Linked DNA regions of Homo sapiens: region 2 is linked to region 1. The links are contacts of gene promoters, found by promoter capture Hi-C in human tissues and cell types (Jung and others, 2019). All regions are on one chromosome and are shown on one strand. Each heading gives the region's core, a stretch centred on a gene start or on the middle of the fragment in contact. The rest is flanking DNA. Distances are from core to core; before and after follow the strand shown. Region 1 holds the start of DBT (dihydrolipoamide branched chain transacylase E2). Region 2 has its middle 33 kb from the start of FRRS1.

Evidence for each region. The method cuts DNA at HindIII sites, captures the fragments that hold promoters and counts their contacts. A contact is called where the count stands out against the background at its distance.
Region 2: a contact is called between a fragment that was not itself captured here and the fragment with the promoter of DBT in region 1, in 2 of the 25 tissues and cell types used here (spleen and stomach).

The regions. Positions count from the first base shown.
Region 1 is chr1:100,248,165-100,253,041 of GRCh38, reverse strand. DBT (dihydrolipoamide branched chain transacylase E2) reads left to right here and starts at 3,208. Exons shown (of 11, transcript NM_001918.5): 1 at 3,208-3,272. The coding sequence starts at 3,222. RefSeq lists a silencer at 2,989-3,088 and enhancers at 3,199-3,318, 2,920-3,479, 3,480-4,039. The HindIII fragment of the contact is 17,632 bases long and covers 1-4,877 here.
Region 2 is chr1:99,797,069-99,802,293 of GRCh38, reverse strand. No RefSeq gene overlaps it. Among named protein-coding and RNA genes, the nearest start is that of FRRS1, 33 kb to the right of the region's middle. The HindIII fragment of the contact is 3,911 bases long and covers 327-4,237 here.

The DNA.
Region 1 (4,877 bases), core at 1,959-4,458:
GTCTGAGAAGCGCTGTGCTAAAGAAACCCTAGAACATGCACCAGGAGAAATGATCAAGAATGTTCATAACAGCACTGACGGTAATAGCAAATAACTAGAAATAGCACAAATATCCACTCAGTAGAGAATGGATAAATAAATCATGTCAGAAAAACTAGTTGCAGAAAGATACATACAGTTTAATACCATTTTTATGAGACTCAAAAACAAGCAAAAGTAAATAATATGTTACTAGGCATCCATCCATATATGTATATGTGGTCAATTCTAAAATAAACAAAGGAATGAAAAACACAATTCAAGATAACGCTTATGAAGGGGAGAGGTAAAGGAAGGAGCAGACAGTGATCTTCACTAACGGGAAAGATTCTATTTCTTTTTTTTTTAGTTTAAAATGTATTTTATTTTTAGACAACCTACATAATGTGTTTTTCCATAGGTTCTATTTCTTAAAGTTGAGTGATAGGTTCAAGGGTTTTTGTTATATTATCATGTGACATATGTATTTGTTTTGTATTGTTTTGAGATGGAATCTTGCTCTATTGCCCAGGCTGGAGTGCAATGGCACAATCTTGGCTCACCACAACCTTCGCCTCCCAGATTTAAGCAATTCTCCTGCCTCAGCCTCCCGAGTATCTGGGACTACAGGCGCATGCCACCATGCCTGGCTAATTTTTGTATTTTTAGTAGAGATGGGGTTTCACTATGTTGGCCAGGCTGGTCTCGAACTGCTGACCTCGTGATCTACCCGCCTTCGCCTCCCAATGTGCTGGGATTACAGGCATGAGCCACCACGTCCAGACTTATGTATTTGTTTTTATTCATATGTTCATTATTGTCTCATATAACACAGTTTTAACAGCTTTATTATGGTGTACTTTACATACCATAAAATTCACCTGTCTTAAGTGTATAATTCAAAGATTTTTAGTAAATGTACAGAATTATGCAATCATTGCCACAAAGTGGCAACAGAAAATTTTCATCACCACAAAAAAAATCTCTCTTGCCTCTGCAATCACTGCCCCTTCCACCTCTAGCCCCAGGCGAATTTGTTTTCTAATGCTAACCTTATTAATTAATAATACTAATATAATCTTATTATATAACTAATATAACTAAAACTAATCTGTTTTTCATCTCTATAAATCAACATTTTCTGGACATTTAATTTAAATGGAATAATGTAATATGTGATCTTTTGTGCTTGTATTCTTTTACTTAGCATAATATTTTTTTGACATTCATCCATGTCATAGCAATTATCGCTAATTCAGTCATTTTTAAGGATGAATAATATTTCAGAATATGGATGTACCACATTTTGTTTATTCACCTGTTAATGGACATCTGGGCTGTTTCTAGATTTTGGCTGTTATGCTGTTATGATTATTCCTATTCAAGTCTTTGTGTGAACACTGTTGTCATTTCTCTTATGTAGCTATCCAGGAGTGGAATTGGTGGGTCATAACTGGCCATTTTTAAATCTAAAAAAAGAGAAGAAATGGGGTCTTTGTTTCTTTCAAACTCGAATAAAAGAATTAACTAGGGAATAGATGGTGTATTTCTTTCCAGATGCTGGAATGAAAGATAAGGACACATATTATACTGAATATAGAAGCAAGAATCCATTGACATAAGAAGACGGTAAAGGAAAATAAACTAGTTATCTTCTGAGGAGCAGGTACAGTTAAAAACGAAATTAGGACAAAGAAAGTTGTATAGCAGCAGCTTGGAAGGGAGATGATTCACTTCAAAGGTACAACTGCCACTGCTTTTTATACAAACACATGCTTGTGGGATTATCAAATATATTAATAATGTCTATAAACATTTTTAAGGAAATGTAAAAACTTGAAATTCTTTTGACTACTCTAGATTTTCTGAGAAAGATAGCTATTTAGGCCGGACCCAGTGGCTCATGCCTGTAATCCTAGGACTTTGGGAGGCTGAAATGGGAAGATCGCAGTTTGAGACCAGGACTTTGAGACCAGCCTGGGCAACATAGAGAGATCCCATCTTGAACTTCTGAGCTCAAGCCATTTGCCTGCCTCAGCCTCCCAAAGTGCTGGAATTATGGGCAGGAGCCACCACGCCTGGCCCAAGAGACCCTATCTCTACCAAACAAACAAACAAACAAAAAAGATAATAAGATTTATTGTTTGCATTGATTTTTTGTGTGTAGATGTGTAATACATAAAATGGCAAATGAGGGGGAAAAGTGTTTGGGTCATATTAAACAATGAAGTTGTGAAATACCTGAGATTTTGTTTCATAACCACTAATCTTCAATGTTGAGCATTTAAAATGTATTTGTTCCAGTTTTTTTTCTCTGTAATTCCTTAGACATCTGTGCAGATTTTCATTCCCACGTAAGAAGCAATAACAGACTAATGTCATCCTGGACATTTCCAGGAATTGGTTTCCTAGTTGCTCTGAGGAAGATTGCCTTTTAAAAGAAAGCTCTGATCTGTTCTTTACCAGTTCCACTTGACCTGAATTTGACATTTCTTTAAGAGACAACTAAATCAAGATCATGTGTCTGTGACATGTATTGCATATGCTAGTTAGCTGCATCTGATAGCAGTCTGTAAAAAGAAAGATGATAACATGTTTATTTTAGACATTAGGTAATGTTCATCTTTCATGAAAAAAATTGATTAGCCAATTTTGGTAATCAAAAACATAAATGGGAGTAAAAAAGGCAGTCATTGGGAAGTACTGCTGTATGGACTTGTGAAACAACTAGTTGTCCAGAGCCTTGCTACAACGTATAGAAATATTCTATTTTCTGTATTTGGGGCGGCTACACTACAAGATGAAGACGGGGAAATGTTTTCCAACTCATCGCTCAGGTCCTACTGCAACATAACTTTCTTGAGGTAAGTACCTTTCTTTGTGTTTCCTTAACACTCTCTATTTTCCCCATCACATACACTAAAAAGATTATCTTTGGTGCATCTGTATTTACACAGCAGTGTTAAATTTGGGCTGCCCTCTGCCCCGCCTCCGTCCCCCAGGCTCTTTTCACTCCCCGCTGGGTCCCAGATCCTAGGGTTTAGCTCAGGCTCCGCCCTACTCCTTGGTTGGCTGTTGGGTGGGAGGCTCGTTTCTTCCCTCCCTATTGGTCGCCCAGGGGGAGGCGCGTTTCCCATCTCCTGATAGGCCGCGCCGAGGAGAGTCTCTCCAGTTTGCGGCACTGTTGTCATTTCCGGGGTAAGATGGCTGCAGTCCGTATGCTGAGAACCTGGAGCAGGAATGCGGGGAAGCTGGTAAGCACGTTTGGGCAGATCTGAGGCCGGGAAGGAGTGATTTGTCCGGAGTCATCCAGGAGTGGTGTTTTACTTTCTCCTCCGGTGCCAGGCGTCCAGGGCACGCGTGATGGAGAGGTGAAGGGATGCATGCAAAATAAAGGGCAGAGAACGGAGCGAGTCGACCAGTCTGGAGTGGAAACCCACTCCCTCCCCTTACCTGGAAGCGCTTCTGCAGCGACTCAGCCGTCCTGCTCCATCTGTACCCCGAGGCCCAGCTAGCGTTTTATTGAGCGCCTTCCAGGTGCCCAGGCATTGTGATAGGCGCTGTGGATCCAGAGATATATTCGTTTAGCATTTATTGCGTACCCACAGTATGCCAAACACTGGTAACACGACCCCTACCCTCAAGGAATCTACAGTGTGTAGAGGAAGAGGCCGTTCAAGTTATAGAATATCAGCAGGGGTCCCTGCTTCCGAAGAACTGAGCAGCTCGGCGTCACTCTTTTGCCTTGTACTTCTATGTCCGCACCACATATCATTCCTACCCTTTTGTCACCAAGGCTGTGACCCATCACCATCTCCCCTGCACTTCCTTCTCTTTCTCCCAGTCTTAGCACCAAGCACTGACACATACCGGTAATGATACTTGTTACCCCTATTTGCTTAGTGTTTCTTCTTCCTGCCTCTTCTCCCTTTCCCTAGATGCTCCTGCCTTGGTGACCCCGATCTTACAAAAACTTTCAAGAGCCTGCTATGTACCAGTGCTGTGTTAGGCACTGGAGATACAAATATGAAATAGACATCATATCTTCCTTCTCAAGAGATTACAACCTTGTGGTGGAGGACAAAGGAGAGGGAGACAGATAGAAATTACAACCCAGCATGAGAGGTACTGTGATGGGACAAGTGCCTAGAACTACAGGAACACACAGGAGTGGACACCTATGGTGGACTTGGGGGTCAGAGGAGTTCCCAGAGGATACTGTATGACTTGAGATGTAAGAAGGATAAGTAAGAGATAACCAGGAGAAGAGAGCTCTTCTCAGCAACACTTAACACATATTGGTCTCTCTTCTTTCTAGAGCTTTCCATTCTTGTTTTCTGTGACACCAGTTTCCCAATATTATTCTTTCTTCATCTTTGGCCACTTCATCCCAATATCCTGTTTCCCTTCCCGCCTTTTAAATATTGCTTTTTCTAAAGGGCTCTGACTTTGGCCCTCTGCACTTTTCCCACTTTCTGGGTTATCCCATCCACTCTTTGGCTTTAGTTACCATCTATGCTGATGAGTCCTAAAGTTCCCCAGTCTTCCAACCAGGTCTACTCCAAACCCATATATCCTACTGTCCTGGAAATCTCCAGTTTCATATGTACGTGATGTTTTCCAGCTGCAATTAAAAACCCAACCAATAAATAGGAAATTAAGTATCCATGCATACAGAGCATCCCCAATTAGATGTCAGCTCACATTAAGTGGCTTATGATTATCAATGTCGTCATTTCCCTAGTAGTTCATTTGTCCTTTTCCTACTGTATACAAGAGGGCTGCTACGACTTCTTCTTTTATGTTGAAGGCAGGAAGGTGGAAGAGGAGGAGGTTCCAGTCTCACTGGCCAGAACTGT
Region 2 (5,225 bases), core at 1,033-3,532, 450 kb after region 1:
GAGAAGTGAGGTGCTGCTGTAACAAATGCTTAAACATGTGGAAGTTGCTTTGGAAATGGGTAATGGGTAGAGGCTGGAAGAGTTTTAAGGTGCATACTATAAATATAGATATTAAGGGTGATTCTTGTGAAGTCTCAGATGGTAACAAAGATCATGTAGGAACCTGAAGGAGAGGCAATCCTTGTTATAAAGAGGGAAATAACCTGACTGAATTGTGTTTGTGTTCTAGTGTTTTTTTGGAAAGTAGAACTGGTAAGCAATGAAACTGGAAATTTCCCTGAGAATATTTCTAAGCAAAGTGTTGAAGGAGTATCTTAGTTCCTCCTGACTGTTTATAGTAATATGTGAGAGGACAGAGATGAACTGAAGAAAGGATTGTTAAGCAACAAGGAACTAGATCTTAAATATTTGGAAAATTCAGCCTATTGATATTGCAAAAAATGCAAAAACATATTCTGAAAGGAACACCAAGGGTGTGGCTGGACTTTCACTCAATAAAGAGTTTATGATATTATAGGAGCAGAAGCACTGTCAGCTTGAACTGAGGGATGGAGGTTGGACAAAATGAAGAAAGGATATTTGACTTCTTAGATTTTGAAAGACAAGACGATAGAGCTATCTGGGTATAAACGTGCACTGTTCAAAGACAGAGAAAAATTGCCCTGAAGGCAATTCAGAGATTATCACGGTCACCATTCAGTTTTAAAAGGCCAGGTGGCCTCTGACCAAAGCTTGGGAGCCAGGACCTCTCTGCAGAGCTGTGGGGCCAAGACCACCATGTACAGCCTTAGGGGGATGACCCCCTCACCCCAACACCACCAGGCCTAGAAGGCAGAGTGTTGAAGAGGATTATTCTCCGGGCTTAAGATCTCATGGAATACCTTGTTGGGTTTTGAACTGGCTTGAAACCAACTACCTTTCCTTCTTTCCTGCTTCTTCTTTTGGAATGGGAATGTTTATTCTATGTCTGTCCCACTATTGTATTTTGGAATCAGATAACATATTTGGTTTCAAAGGTTCACAGCTGGAGAAAAATTTTGCCTCATAATGAATTACATCTCAAGTCTCGGCAATATCCAGTTTAGATGATTTTTAGAGAGACTTTAATAACAAACCTGCACATGTACCTCTGAACTTAAAACAAAAGTTAAAGAAAACCTTATTAAGTTAAGAAAAAATATTAGACTTTAAATGTTAGACTTTAGAGTTGAAACTGGAATGCGTTAAGACTTTAGGGGCACTGGTCACTTCCAAGATGGCCAAATAGGAACAGCTCTGGTCTATAGCTCCCAGCAAGATTGACAAAGCAGATGGGTGATTTCTGCATTTCCAACTGTGGTACCTGATTCATCTCATTGGGACTGGTTGGACAGTGGGTGCAGCCCATGGAAGGCAAGCTGAAGCAGGGTGGGGCATTGCCTCACCGGGGAAATGCAAGGGGTTGGGGGATTTCCCATTCCTAGCCAAGGGAAGCCGTGAGTGACTGTACCTGGAGGAGTGGTACACTTCTGCCCAAATACTGCACTTTTCCCATGGTCTTCACAACCTGCAGACCAGGAGATCCCCTCCTGTGCCTGGCTCAGCAGGTCCTATGCTCACAGAGCCTTGCTTGCTGCTAGCGCAGCAGTCTGAGATCAACCTGGGATGCCGGAGCTTGGTGGGGGGAGGGGTGTCCACCATTGCTGAGGCTTGAGTAGGTGGTTCTATGTTCACAGTGTAAACAAAGTGGCAGGGAAGCTCGAACTGGGTGGAGCCCACTGGAGCTCAGCAAGGCCTACTGCCTCTCTAGATTCCACCTATGAGGGCAGGGCATATCTGAACAAAAGGCAGCAGACAGCTTCTCCATACTTAAACATCCCTGCCTGACCATTCTGAAGAGAGCAGTTGTTCTCCCAGCACGGCATTCGAGCTGCAATAACAGACAGACTGCCTCCTCAAGTGGGTCCCTGACCCCTGTGTAGCCTGACTGGGAGACACCTCCCAGTAGGGGCTGACAGACACCTCATACAGGTGGGTGCCCCTCTGGGATGAAGCTTCCAGAGGAAGGATCAGGCAGCAATATTTGCTATTCTGCAGCCTCTGCTGGTGATACCCAGGCAAACAAGGTCTGGAGTGGACCTCCAGCAAACTCCAACAGACCTGCAACTGAGAGGCTTCTCTGTTAGAAGAAAAACCAACAAACAGAAAAGAATAGCATCAACATCAACAAAAAGGACATCTACACCAAAACCTCATCCATAGGTCACCAACATCAAAGACCAAAGGTAGATAAAACCACAAAGAGGGGAGAAACCAGAGCAGAAAGGCTGAAAATTCCAAAAACTAGAACACCTCTTCTCCTCCAAAGGAACACAACTTCTCACCAACAAGAGAACAAAACTGGTTGGAGAATGGGTTTGACGAGTTGGCAGAAGTAGGCTTCAGAAGGTCGGTTATAACAAACTTCTCTGAGCTAAAGGATCATGTTCTAACTCATTGCAAGGAAGCTAAAAACCTTGAAAAAAGGTTAGACGAATGGCTAACTGGAATAACTAGTGTAGAGAAGACCTTAAATGACCTGATAGAACTGAAAATCACAGTATGAGAACTTCGTGAAGCATACACAAGCTTCAATAGCCGAGTCGAACAAGTGGAAGAAAGGATATCAGTGATTGAAGATCAAATTAATGAAATAAAGCAAGAAGACAAGATTAGAGAAAAAAAGAGTGAAAAGAAATGAACAAAGCCTCCAAGAAATATGGGACTATGTGAAAAGACCAAATCTGTGTTTGCTTGGTGTTCCTGAAAGTGACGGGGGGAATGGAACCAAGTTAGAAAACACTTTTCAGGATATTATCTGGGAGAACTTCCCCAACCTAGCAAGGCAGGCCAACATTCAAATTCAGGAAATACAGAGAACACCACAAAGATTCTCCTTGAGAAGAGCAACCCCAAGACACATAATTGTCAGATTCACCAAGGTTGAAATGAAGGAAAAAATGTTAAGGGCAGCCAGAGAGAAAGGTTGGGTTACCCACAAAGGGAAGCCCACCAGACTAACAGCGGGTCTCTCTGCAGAAACCCTACAAGCCAGAAGAGAGTGGGGACCAATATTCAACATTCTTAAAGAAAAGAATTTTCAACCCAGAATTTCATATTCAGCCAAACAAAGCTTCATAAGTGAAGGAGAAATAAACTCCTTTACAGACAAGCAAATACTGAGAGATTTTGTCACCACCAGGCCTGCCTTACAAGAGCTCCTGAAGGAAGCACAAAACATGGGAAGGGGCCAGGCGTGGTGGCTCACACCTGTAATCCCAGCACTTTGGGAGGCTGAGGTGGGCAGATCACGAGGTCAGATCGAGACCATCCTGGCTAACATGGTGAAACCTCATCTCTACTAAAAATTATAAAAAATTAGCCAGGCATGGTGGTGGCTGAGGCAGGAGAATGGCATGAACCCAGGAGGTGGAGCTTGCAGTGAGCTGAGATCACGCCACTGCACTCCAGCCTGGGTGACAGAGCAAGACTCCATCTCAAAAAAAAAAAAAAAAAAAAACAACAAAAACCATGGAAAGGAGTAACTGGTACCAGCCACTGCAAAAACATGCCAAATTGTAAAGGCCATCGATGGTATGAAGAAACTGCATCAATTAGTGGGCAAAATAACCAGCTAGCATCATAATGACAGGATCAAATTCACACATAACAATATTAACCTTAAATGTAAATGGGCTAAATGCCCCAATTAGAAGACACAGACTAGCAAATTGGATAAAGAGTCAAGACCCATTGGTGTGCTGTATTCAGGAGACCCATCTCATGTGAAAAGACACACAGGCTCAAAATAAAGGGATGGAGGAAGATCTACCAAGTAAATGGAAAGCAAAAAAAAGCAGGGGTTGCAATCCTGGTCTCTGATAAAACAGACTTTAAACCAACAAAGATGAAAAGAGACAAAGGAGGCCATTACATAATGGTAAAGGGATCTATTGAACAAGAAGAGCTAACTATCCTAAATATATATGCACCCAATACGGGAGCACCCAGATTCACAAAGCAAGTTCTTAGAGACCTACAAAGAGACTTAGACTCCCACACAATAATAATGGGAGACTTTAACACCCCACTATCAATATTAGACAGATCAATGAGACAGAAAATTAACAAGGATATTCAGAACTTGAACTCAGCTCTAGACCGAGTGGACCTAATAGACATCTACAGAACTCTCCACCCCAAATCAACAGAATATACATTCTTCTCAGCACCACATCACACTTATTCTAAAATTGACCACATAATTGGAAGTAAAACACTCCTCAGCAAATGCAAAAGAAGAGAAATCACAACAAACTGTCTCTCAGACCACAGTGCAATCAAATTAGAACTCAGGATTAATAATCTCACTCAAAACTGCACAACTACATGGAAACTGAACAACCTGCTCCTGAATGACTACTGGGTAAATAACAAAATGAAGGCAGAAATAAAGATGTTCTTTGAAACCAATGAGAACAAAGACACAACGTACCAGAATATCTGGGGCACATTTAAAGCAGTGTGTAGAGGGAAATTTATAGCACTAAATGCCCACAAGAGAAAGCAGGAGAGATCTAAAATTGACACCTTAACATCACAATTAAAAGAACTAGAGAGACAAAAGCAAACAAATTCAAAAGCTAGTAGAAGACAAGAACTAAGATCAGAGCAGAACTGAAGGAGATAGAGACACAAAAAAACCCTTCAAAAAATCAATGAATCCAGGAGCTGGTTTTTTGAAAAGACCAACAAAATAGACCACTAGGAAGACTAATAAAGAAGAAAAGACAGAAGAATCAAATAGATGCAATAAAAAATGATAAAGGGGATATCAGCACCGATCCCACAGAAATACAAATTGCCATCAGAGAATGCTAGAAATACCTCTATGCAAATAAACTAGAAAATCTAGAAGAAATGGATAAATTCATGGATACATACACCCTCCCAAGGCTAAACCAGGAAGAAGTTGAATCTCTGAATAGACCAATAACAGGTTCTGAAATTGAGGCAATAATTAATAGCCTACCAACCAAAAAAAGTCCAGGACCAAATGGATTCACAGCCATTCTACCAGAGGCACAAAGAGGAGCTGGTACCATTCCTTCTGAAACTACTGCGATCAAAGAAAAAGAGGGAATCATCCCTAACACATTTTATGAAGCCAGCATTATCCTGATACCAAAGCCTGGCAGAGACACAAC